Regions from separate parts of the Homo sapiens genome. Here all the other regions are linked to region 2. The links are contacts of gene promoters, found by promoter capture Hi-C in blood cells and fetal thymus (Javierre and others, 2016). All regions are on one chromosome and are shown on one strand. Each heading gives the region's core, a stretch centred on a gene start or on the middle of the fragment in contact. The rest is flanking DNA. Distances are from core to core; before and after follow the strand shown.

Region 1 (3,762 bases), core at 473-2,972, 2.0 Mb before region 2:
TCAAAAAAAAAAAAAAAAGATGGTGTTTTACTAAGAGTCTAATTTTTGAAGTTCTCTGTGCTGTGCACCTTGAGAAATAATGCTGTCCTCATTAGTTAAGATGTTTGGAACTATACAGCACCATGGTTATGAGCAGGGACTGTGAAACAGGCTGCCTGGATTTAAGTCCTGGCTCTGTCTCGGCTATTTGTGTAAGCTTAGATTAATTACTTAGCCCGGCTGTGTCTTAGTTTCTGTATCTGTAACATGAGGATATGCCAGTTTTGGGAACCTCAGGGTTTTTAGGGTGGGTTAAATGAGTTGATATCTGTAAAGAAAGCACAGCAGTGTCTGGCCCATAGTGCTTTGTAAGTGTGGGTGATTATCAATACTGCTGAGCCTTTAGCATGTGTGCCAGGCCCTGTGCGAACTGTTGTATCATCAATGAGCTGTGGGAGGTATATGCAGCTGAAGTGTCTGATTAAACACTATTTAATCATAGAAATAGAAAATCATAGAAATAGAAAAACTATTTCACCTGGGCCTTAAAAATGGGTTACTGGCCAAGCGCAGTGGCTCAAGCCTATAATCCTGGCACTTTTGGAGGCCGAGGTGGGTGGATCGCTCAGGAGTTCGAGACCACCCTGGAGAACATGGTGAAACCCTGTCTCTACTAAAATACAAAAAATTAGCTGGGGGTGGTGGCGCGTGTCTATAGTCCCAACTACTTGGGAGGCTGAGGCACGAGAATTGCTTGAGCACCGGAGGCGGAGGTTGCAGTGAGCCGAGATCCAATCACTGCACTTCAGCTTGGGCTATAGAGTGAGACTCCGTCAAAAAAAAAAAAAAAAAGTTACTATACTGTAGCTGGTATTTATTGAACACCTACTATGTTCAAGGCATTGTTCTAAGTACTATACAATAATTAACTAATTTAATTCTTAAAACAATCCTAGGCAGTAAACTATTGTCCTTATTTCAAAGAAGAAGAAACAGCACAGGGTCCTGTCATGCCCAAGTGGGTGAGGAATACTGGAAAACAATTGGCAGCTGAGTGTTCCAGTTCCAGAGAGGGCACTCTGGAACCAACCAAGGTTCTCTTTCCTCATTTTTTACGTGAGTATCTTGGGATATAAAGTCTTAAAGAATGAATTTCAGAATATGTGAGGAAATCCATTTCCCAGGTAGACCACAGTGCTCTTGAATATCAAGATTAACAGTAACAATTGTAACAATTGGTGTTTTCTTAGTCCTTATCATCCTTGATCACACCACCCTCTTTATTCTTCTCCTCCTTCTGAATAACTCCTTGTTTTCTCAGCTTTCCTTTTCTTTCTTCTCTCCTAGAATAAGTTTTGCTTATTATCTTCTTTGTGTTTTCAGTACCTATCAGATTCAATTTTCACCTTCAGCTGACTAAAATAATCTCTTCAGCCCTCACCTCTTCCCAGTTGGTCACCTTTACCAAAGATTACTCACACCTCAAAGACAAGAAGTCCATTATCATTATCCACAGAGTCCATCCTCACCAAGGCTACCCTGTCTGTGGTTTTTTTTTTTTTTTTTTTTTTTTTTGAGATGGAGTTTTGCTCTTGTTGCCCAGGCTGGAGTGCAGTGTTGCGATCTCGGCTCACTGCAACCTCTGCCTCCCCACTTCAAGTGATTCCCCTGTCTCAGCCTCCTGAGTAGCTTGGATTACAGGTGTGCACCACCACGCTTGGCTAATTGTGGAGACGGGGTTTCACCATGTTGGCCAGGCTGGTCTCGAACTCCTGACCTCAGGTGATCTGCCTGCCTCGGCCTCCCAAAGTGTTGGGATTACAAGTATGAGCCACCTCGCCCGGCCTACTCTATGTGAACAGCACTTTCTTTCTACCTTGTACCCAGATTCCTTGCTTTGACTTCCCCCATATCATATAAAGATTGCAGACTAATCAGCTGTCAAGAGTTCTACTGATTGGGTAATACAATATCTAATCCTTCTAGATTAAATCATGGCTTCATCTCCACTGTCTCATGAGTCAGTCACTCCTTCCTACTTCCTGCCACTTCAGCCCACATGCAGTCCCTTTATTGAATCTGTCTGACAAATAACAGGATCATCTTTTTCAAGTACAGTTCTGATCAAGCCTTTACCATACCAAAACTTTTTTTTTTTTTTGAGACAGAGTCTCACTCTATTGCTCAGATTGTAGTGCAATGGCGCAATCTCAGCTCACTGCAACCTTGGCCTTCTGGGTTCAAGTGATTCTCCTGCCACACTCTCTCTAGTAGCTGGGACTACAGTCACATGCCACCACACCCAGCTAATTTTTTGTATTTTTAGTAGAGATGGGGTTTCGCCATGTTGACCAGGCTGGTCTCAAACTCCTGACCTCAGGTGATCCACCTGCCTTGGCTTCCCCAAGTGCTGAGATTACAGGTGTGAGCCACCATACCCAGCCTACCTTACCAAAAGTTTCAAGAACTTCCCCAATTTTAGGCTGCCGTTTTTCAGTATTTCTATTTAGGTATTAAATCTGCAACGAGGGAGATATTGGAGAAATTATTCATGCTACAAGAAATGTTGGAGAGGCAAAATGGCTTCAGTCAACAGACTACAGGGAGCTAGGTTTTAGTTTCATGTCTTCTACAACCCTGCTTGGAGCCCAGCCTGTTACTTAGTGTCCTATGTCTTCCAACTCCACACTATTTTTTTTTTTTTTAATAGAGACGGTGCTTCACTATGTTGCCCAGGCAGATCTCAAACTCCCAGCCTTAAGTAATCCTTCCACCTCAGCCTCCCAAAGTGCTGGGATTATAGTTAGAGGCTGTACCTGGCCACCAACAGCTCAACACTAAACATCTTACTGTTAGCCCCTCACGCACAGATAAGGAATCCAGAAGACAGTACCAGAAGATCTTTGTTCAGATGTGAGTAGTTTATGTAAATTCATGAAGAACTTACAGTCAACTGGATGTTCAGAAGGCATTCCTTTCTTCATTACAGTCACCCTTCACACACGGCAGGGGTGACTGAATTCTCTAAGGTCCAGGCACCCTACACTGCTGTCCCATCTGAATTGGCAGAGAAATATCTCATCCCTGGACATTTTTATCCCCCTGTCTAGATGGATTAGTGACCTAAATATGAAAAATAATGAAGAAAGTCTGGGAGAATAGTTTTACAACTTTTGAGGGAGGGGAAGGAAACCTTTTAGCAAGTTATTAAAATTAAAAGCCATAGAAGGAAAGATTGAAAATTTAACTGCATCCAGATGAAAAGCTTCATTCATATGAATGACACTGTAAATAAAGTTGAAATACCTGGAAGAAGGAATTCTCCAATATATGTAATTGACAAATGATTAAAGGATATGAATTGGGCATCCTCAAAAGAGAAAACTTGAGACCAAGCAAAATGAAAGGATGGTTCAATCTTAATGGCCCTATGGGATACGCAAAATAAAGCAAAAATAACATTGTTTTTCCTCATAAGATTGGCCTACTAGATATCAAGACACACTGTAAAGAGCTATAATAATGTAAAACATTTGGCACTTGACATGCAGAAATCAACAAATGGATCAATGAAAAAATAATGCAGACTCCAGACATGGATCTGGTATATACATATCCAAGCGTTTATTTTATAATAAAGGTAACATTTCAAATTAAGGAAGGAATAATGGATTATTCAGTAAATTATTTTGGGGCAATTAGTTATCTATTCCAGAAAAAATATTTTAAATAATACTGTCCACTCCCAAACACAAATACACAAATGATGCAGTATCAAGAGAT
Region 2 (3,721 bases), core at 756-3,255:
TCTTGCTCTGTTGCCCAGGCTGGAGTGCAGTGGCACAATCTTGGCTCACTGCAACCTCCGCCTCCCGGATTTAAGCGATTCTCCTGCCTTAGCCTCCTGAGTTGCTGGAATTACAGGAATGCGCCACCACACCAGGCTAATTTTTGTATTTTTTAGTAGAGACGGAGTTTCACCATATTGGTCAGGCTGGTCTCAAATTCCTGACCTCATGATCTGCCCACCTCGGCCTCCCAAAGTGCTGAGATTACAGGCGTGAGCCACCGCGCCCGGCCTGCACAACTTTATTTTTTATTTTTTTTTATTTTTGAGATGGAGTTTCACTCTTGTCGCCCAGGCTGCAGTGCAATGGCATGGTCTCGGCTCACTGCAACCTCCACCTCCCAGCTTCAAGCGATTCTCCTGCCTCAGCCTCCCGAGTACCTGGGATTACAGGCGCACACCACCAACCCCAGCTAATTTTTGTATTTTTAGTAGAGATGGGGTTTCACCATGTTGACCAGGCTGGTCCCGAACTCCTGACCTCAGGTGATCCGCCCACCTTGGCCTCCCAAAGTGCTAGGATTACAGGCGTGAGCCACCACGCCTGGCTGCCTACACAACTTTAAATGGTGAAAGCTAGACTCCCATGATGGCACTGTGATTTCATAACTTTTGCTCTTAACCTCTAGATAAGTCACACACGATCCAACCCTTGTTGGTATAATATTGTAAACATCAGAGCCGGGTGTGGTGGCTCACACCTGTAATCCTATCACTTTGGGAGACTGAGGCGGGCGGATCACGAGGTCAGGGATTCGAGACCAGCCTGGCCAACATAGTAAAACCCCGTCTCTACTAAAAATACAAAAATTAGCTGGGCGTGGTGGCGGGCGCTTGTAGTCCCAGCTACTCGGGAGGCTGAGCCAGGAGAATCGCTTGAACCCGGGAGGCGGAGGTTGCGGTGAGCCGAGATTTCGCCACTGCACTCCAGTCTAGGCGACAGAGCGAGACTCCGTCTCAAAAAAAAAAAAAAAAAAAAAACAAAAAAAACCCATAATGTTGACTATATATATATATATATATATATATATATAGTCAACATTATTTCATGATTAAGTGATGGAGTACCGAAATGAGTTAGAAAAACCTGATATGCCTCGTTTGTCTGTGACATTGTGTTTTGCTAGTGAGGATCCATGGCGTCTGAAAATGAGATAGCGTCCCTTCTTAAAAATTGAAAGTTGTTAAACACTTTTGTTAAGTTCTGTTTTGAGTTTCTCACAAATAATGAGGACTTAGTTCTAATTCTAAGCGCTAAGCCCTGTGGTGATGTGATTTCCTTGCTAGGCTCATGCACTAATATATCACACTAGGATCACCTCCCACAAGTTCTCACAGACTGTAGACAACTTATTTCAAGACATGAATGATCTTTACTTTCCATTCTCCCTTTTCTTCTGTAGATTACCATGGCTGTTTTCACTCTAACAGATTTTCAACTGTTTTTGTAATCAATAATGTAAGTTTAATTCTTCCCCCCTCCCTCCAAATAACTTCATGAACTGGAGGCACATGTGCGCCCATATTTTCCGCTCTGTTTTCCTTTGTTGGTCCTCCACAGATAGTGCCCTCTGTTGGATGGGCCGGTTCATTTTAGCTTCCACCTTCCCTTAAAACAATTAGAAGCTCTTAATTTAGATGGTACTGATGTTAATGATGATGATTTTCCATTTTATGCAAGTTTTGGCCCTCTGCTTGTCTAAAAGCCTTGAGGCAAAGAGTTATATGCAGTTTCTCTGCGGGTGTCTGATTACGTGGAGAAATTGACCAGAAATGGGATTTTTAAAATACAGCACACGCCTCGGTGCGGCTTCCAGTAAGCGCCACCAGGTGACGGTGCGGGGAAAGGGAAAAAAAAAAAAAAAAAAGGCATGCCGGAAGTCTCTCTTGACAGACAGACGCGCGGGCGAGTAGCGGAAGAGGAAGCGGACACGTGGGACACTCTACGGTGGCCGAGAGGATGCCGCAGATGTGTTAGCGGCGAGTCCAGAAGCAGCCCCAGGAGGTGCTGGGGGCATCGTTTCTCTAATCTGGCCTCCCGAGTGCCAAGGAGGCGTCCCGGCAGCGGTCATCATGGTGAAGGAGCAGTTCCGGGAGACGGATGTGGCCAAGAAAATGTAAGACGGAGTAAGAGTGGCCAAAGGGCTGAGAAATAGGGCAAGGGGTCCGAGGTCAGCGGTCCCGGGTCTTGCAGGGTCAGAGATGGGGTGCAATGGGAAGGGGAGGGCCAGTAGTCCATAGGTGTGACCAGCGCCCAGAACTACCAGCGTTGGTCAAAGAGCATTGGTCAGGCTGAGGGGATTTCAGCACCTCGAGAGGTCCCTGGACTTGGGCGGAGAAGTCGGAGTGGCCTGAGCCTTAATGATTTGTGCACCCTGGGCCAAAGCTCGCATTCTCCTGAAGTCATACAATGATCCCTGTTCTTCAGCGAACTATCCCCTGCTGCAGCGAGGGGAGCAATCTGGGGCGGGGACTGTCTCTAATTCTGTCAGCCGCAGAGCGTCTGACACGGAGGCAGTAGTTGCTTACCAAAAGGATGGGGTTGCCCACTAGAAAGCTGTACCACAGGCCGACGGATGGCAGTGTCAGAAATAAAGCTGCTATCCGGACTTTTGCCTTCAGAAATACGTTATTAGGCGGTGGCTCCTTCTTAGAGTTCTCGGTAAGAAAGTGAATCCAGCCGGGCGCGGTGGCTTACTCCTGTAATCCCAGCACTTTAGGAGGCCGAAGCGGGTGAATCTCCTGAGCTCAGGAGTTTGAGACTAGCCTGGGCAACGTGGCGAAACCCCGTCTCTATCAAAAATACAAAAATTAGCAGGCGTGGTGGCGCGCCCTTGTGGTCCCAGCTACTCGGGAGGCTGAGGCCGAAAAATCACTTGAGCCTGGGAGGCAGAGGTTGCAGTGGGCAACCTCCTGCATTCCACCCTGAGTGACAGAGTGAGACGGTGTCTCAAAAAAAAAAGTGAATTCATCATTCTTACAGCAGACACTGAGGAGGATACTGCGCGTTATTCCCAGTGTTGGACGTTAAAGATACGGTCTGAATAAAACTTTTACTGCCTAATCTAGTTGGAGAAGGTACACAAGTCAACACTGGGTACGACAAGTGCAATGACAAGGGTAGGTCCAGGGGGTTTTGAGAGCACATAATGGGTCCAGGCAAAAGAAAGCAGACCAAACTGCTTTTTTCAAGGAGCAGACCTGAGGGAGAGAACACAGGTGATCAGAAGGAAGCAGAAGACTTGAAGCTGTGTTAAGAAGTCATCTTGTAGGCAGTGAGGAACCTTTGAAGGATTTTCAACAGGAGAGTATCTTGATAAGAGTTCTCCTTCTGGAAAATCTCTTGATTCATGGTGGAAAGAATTAGAGGTCGAGAGACCTTGAGACGGATATACAGAATGCCTTGCTTGGGCAGCTGTGTGGATGGTTGCCATTCACTAGAACAGGTGTCTTACCTAGGTGAATGCAGCATTCTCCCATGTGGTAGCTCTACATCGACACTGGCCCTTCACACCCACCTGTACACCTGCGCCCAGTCAGATATAATACATTCTCACAAAACAGAGAAAGTGCTTCTGTCAAAGTGCAAATTAAGGGTATTGTCAATTAAAATCCTCTAGCAGAGGCCAGGAGTGGTGGCTCACGTCTGTAATCCCAGCACTTTGGGAGGCCATGGCAGGCA
Region 3 (3,986 bases), core at 647-3,146, 2.4 Mb before region 2:
ATAAACACTACTGAGCACCTATGCCATGTCCAGCCTGGGTTCTAAGACCACACCAAGTTCATAGCTGGTGAGGGACTTTCCAGACTTGGAATAGTGCCTGCAACAATGCCTCGCACCCCACAGAAATCTCAACCATGCTTTGTTAACTAAACTGAGGATGACATTAGGTGGCCCAAGCAGTGGAGTTCAGAGATGTGGGGATGGATATATCCAGAGTCTCCAACTGAAGTTGGGGTGCAACACAATGAGAAGGAAAGGGAAAATACATCTGGTGGCCCTGGGTTTCCAGGGCCTGTCACTATAACGTTAGGGATCGGAGTGGGATCAGACTGCGCGTGGTGGCTCACACCTGTAATCCCTGTGCTTTGGGAGGCTGAGGTGGGAGGATCACTTGAGCCCAGCAATTTGAGGCTATGATCACACCAGCAGCTAAGGGGATAGAAGGGCATACAGGGCCATTATGGTGGAGTCTGGGCTTCATTCTGGGGGTGCCAGGGCCCAGGAAGATCCCTGGAAAGACGGCCGCCCCCACCAACCACTCGGCTAGCTGAAATGTGGCAAGGACATAGGGGTGCTCCGATGGCCTGTCCCCAGGTTTCCCTTCACAAATAGAGAAGGGTGGCCGGAGCACTCAGCAGGCACTAACTGCTTCTGGACTTCAAGGTCAAGGGGCAAGGGGAAGGCTACTTTTGAGGATTTGGCAGGCCACTCTCTCACTAGCCCAAGAGCAACTCCCTCTCGGAAGGGAGGAAGATCCCCTGGAGAGCAGACCACTGCCAAGAGCACACCTGCAGAGGCTCCAATACAATGCTCTGCACAGCCGCCCAGCACCGCCTGACCTCCCGGATAGCAGCGCCAGCACAGCCAACGAGTGTGTGACACCGCCGCACTCACCACCGCTCTGCGCCCAGCCCCAGGCCAGTACCCGGGCCCACGACTTCCCCCGACTCCCCCTAGCACGGACTGTTTCTCGCCGGAGATCAACTTTAAGTCCCCAAGACAAGTGCTCCTGCGGTCCCAGGGCCAAAGTCCCTCCACACACCCTCACACAGGCACTTCCTACCCACCCGCACCCCACCCCTGGGGGTGGAGGAGAAGCAGCAGCGGCCCGGGACAAGCACAGTCCGCAGCCACAAACCTCACTCTACCAGAACTCCGGCTAGGTCAGGGGTCAGGCTTTGCTCCCAAACACAACCCCACACGACTAACGCGGAGAAGCTGGGTCACCGCCTACTCAAACTCCGGCCGTCCCAAACCCAAGCCGGGCAGAGTGGGACCCACGGCGGCGTGGGAGACTGAGCACAACCACGGCGGGGCAGGAGGAAGGGGCGGCCCGCCCCGGCCTACGCCCACCCCCACCCCGGACCCGATCTCCTGGGAGCCGAGGGTGGGTGACTGAGCCGAAAGGGTGGCCCATCCCCGAGCTCGCTGCTGGGGACGAGAAGCAGAGCCCCGAGCAGCAGCGGCCGTCCAGGCTCCCGTCGCCCTCACCCCGCCCGGCACGGGCGCGCACTCGCCGGGGCGCGCTGATGGGGCGAGGGCTACCGAACCAGGAGTGCCGGCCCCGGGCCCGCCGCGGCTCTCGTCCGCGCGGCGCCGGAGTTCGGCTCAGCGGGGTCCCGGCGGAGGCCTCCAACCTCTAGCGAGCAATCCTGGCAGACAAAGCCAGCGCCGCCCGCGGGGCCGCTCCTGGGCAGGCGGGGAGGGAGGCTGAGGGGCCAAACAGGGACCTAAGGAGCAGCCCTCGCCCCCGGAGAACGCTCGGGGAAGTCGGCCTCAGACAAAGAAAGGGGCAGGGCCCGACGCCCCAGCCAGGTCTCCGCGCTCTACTCACCCGCGCGCGGCGGCGGCAGCGGCGGCGCGGCCCGGCTCGGCCGAGGAAGTTAGAGCAAGTTCCGCGGCGCGGGGCGGGAGGGCGCGACTCGGGCCGTCCGAGCGGCGGGGGCGGGGCGCGGAGGGGCGCGGAGGGGCGGGGCCGGAGGCGCGGCGCCTGCCGTCTGCCGAGGAAGGGGCGCCGCTTCCCTGCGCCGCCCGGTGCGGCCCCGGGCGCCTGGGCCCGCCCTGGCCCCGCCCCTCCCCCAGCCGCCTCGCCCCTCCCCCACCGCACCCCGCCTCCCGGCCCGCGCGGCACCGGGGACCGCGAGGCCGGGTCGCCGGCCCGCCCCTTTGTCCCGCTCTGGGCGGTGCCGGAGGCTTGGGGCGGCCCCGGTCCGCGCCCTCCCAGTGGGTGCGCGGCGCAGGCCGGGCCTGGCCCGGGGCCGGGCACTTGTAGCCGCCGGGAGCGCTCTGAGCCGTTGCGCTGCGCAGACGCCGCTCTGGCCTTGTCGGAGCCGAACCTGGGAGAAGCACGAGCTGTGGGAGGCGGCGTCTCGAGGGATACACGGGATGACCGTGGAGAGCGGGCGAAGGATTAGGAAAATGGCTGTGGTGGAGATAAGAGGCGTTCCTGCCCGGCTTTGGAGCCTGGGGGCGGGGGTAGTCTTCAATCAAAAGAAGGATGGGGAAAAGGTTTTTATTTCTTTGTAAACCAAGGAGTAAGGACACGCTCCTTCTGGCCTTGGTGCTAAAAATACCAAGCTTTCTTTGGATCGTGGCTGAGATTTCTTCCTAACCTTTACGCTAAAGAGGTGGCTGGGACGATTCTTGTGGTGTAGGGGGGTTTCCAGGGACAGCCAGGGGTGGCGCCCCTCTTTGGATCGTGGCTGAGATTTGTTCCTCACCTTTACGCTAAAGAGATGGCTGGGACGATTCCTGTGGGGTAGAGGGGTTTCCAGGGATAGCCAGGGGCGGCTCCCCAGCCTCAGCCTCCCTACCTGTAGAATGAAGCATGCCACACCTCTGTTTCTTAAACTTATTCGGTGGCTGAGGGCCGAGTGGTCTTCTCTGTTGAGTAACACCAAACAGGGATCTATTAAAACTGGGCTAAGACTGGTTGCCACATGCCAGTACAAGCAACCAACAGGTTAATTCCAATGGAAGGAGGAAATCTTGAAATGGAGACTGTTCAGTCCATTCCCAGGTTTGTTTGGGTTGTTTTTTGAGCTAAGGTATCGCTTTGTCACCCAGGCTGGAGTGCAGTGGCATGACCATGGCTCACTGCAGCCTCGACCTCCCGCCTCAGCTTCCCCAAGTAGCTGGGACCACAGGTGCAGGCCACCACACCTAGCTAATTTTTTTTTTTTTTTTTTTGTAGAGACGAGATCTTGCTGTGTTGCCAGTGATGGTCTTAAATTCCTGGGCTTAAGCAATCCTTCCGCCTCTGCCTCCCAGAGTGCTGGAATTACACGCATGAGCCACGGTGCCTGGCTAATTTTATTTGTTTGTTTAATTAAGAGGGATGCAACCTGTCTGTGACAGCCCAGGCAGCTCTGGAAACTCCCTGGGAACCTGTCCATTCATTCAGCAGATAGTGAGTGTTTGTCTGAGTGCCTGATAATATGCCAGGCCCTGTGTGCATGGTGGGATACTTCAGTGAACAAGACAGCTGAGGCCTTTTGCCCAATAAAGTTAATTTTTAGTGGAGAAGACAAATACATAATCACAAGTTGAAGTAAAGGCTGGGACAAAAACAAGGGGCTAGAATAGAGAATAAAAGCTACCTTAGATGAAGCAGTCAGGGAAAGTGAGGAGGCGATGCTGAAATTGAAGTCAAAAGAGTAAGGAGTTAGCCTTGGGAAAAGTTGGGCAGAGACATTCCTCGCTGAGAGCAGTAGGTGCCTTTTCAGGGTAAGTTCTGGATGGGTCAGGGAACTGAAAGAAAATCAGTGTGGCTGAAGTTTTAAGCCTAGGGGAAGAGGCCCAGGATGGAGTGAGAAGGTGGGTGGGGGCCAAAGCATGCAGGGCCTGTGGGCTGTGTCAAAGAATGGAGACTTTGTTGAGCCTTGGAAGGGTTTTATGCAGAAGACTAACATGTTCTGATTTAAGGCTGTGTGTGGGTGTCAGGCAAAAATAAAAGCAGGGAGCCAATTAGGCTTGCCACAATCCAG

What was found. Contacts are between HindIII fragments. The CHiCAGO score rates a contact against its expected background, and 5 or more counts as called.
Region 1: a contact is called between a fragment that was not itself captured here and the fragment with the promoter of POLR3A in region 2, in 2 of 17 cell types (activated CD4 T cells and naive CD8 T cells). The highest score is 7.5, in activated CD4 T cells.
Region 3: the fragment with the promoter of TSPAN14 here is called in contact with the fragment with the promoter of POLR3A in region 2 in 2 of 17 cell types (naive CD8 T cells and activated CD4 T cells); the score reaches 8.2 in naive CD8 T cells.

What each region holds. Positions count from the first base shown.
Region 1 is chr10:80,074,273-80,078,034 of GRCh38, reverse strand. The region is part of intron 1 of TMEM254-AS1 (TMEM254 antisense RNA 1); the gene reads left to right. Among named protein-coding and RNA genes, the nearest start is that of TMEM254, 2.5 kb to the left of the region's middle. The HindIII fragment of the contact is 3,048 bases long and covers 199-3,246 here.
Region 2 is chr10:78,027,799-78,031,519 of GRCh38, reverse strand. POLR3A (RNA polymerase III subunit A) reads left to right here and starts at 2,005. Exons shown (of 31, transcript NM_007055.4): 1 at 2,005-2,156. The coding sequence starts at 2,113. RefSeq lists an enhancer at 1,836-2,085. The HindIII fragment of the contact is 13,008 bases long and covers 1-3,721 here.
Region 3 is chr10:80,452,220-80,456,205 of GRCh38, reverse strand. TSPAN14 (tetraspanin 14) reads right to left here and starts at 1,896. Exons shown (of 9, transcript NM_030927.4): 1 at 1,835-1,896. RefSeq lists enhancers at 781-830, 861-1,120, 1,070-1,587, 2,331-2,540 and a silencer at 1,251-2,300. The HindIII fragment of the contact is 5,289 bases long and covers 1-2,579 here.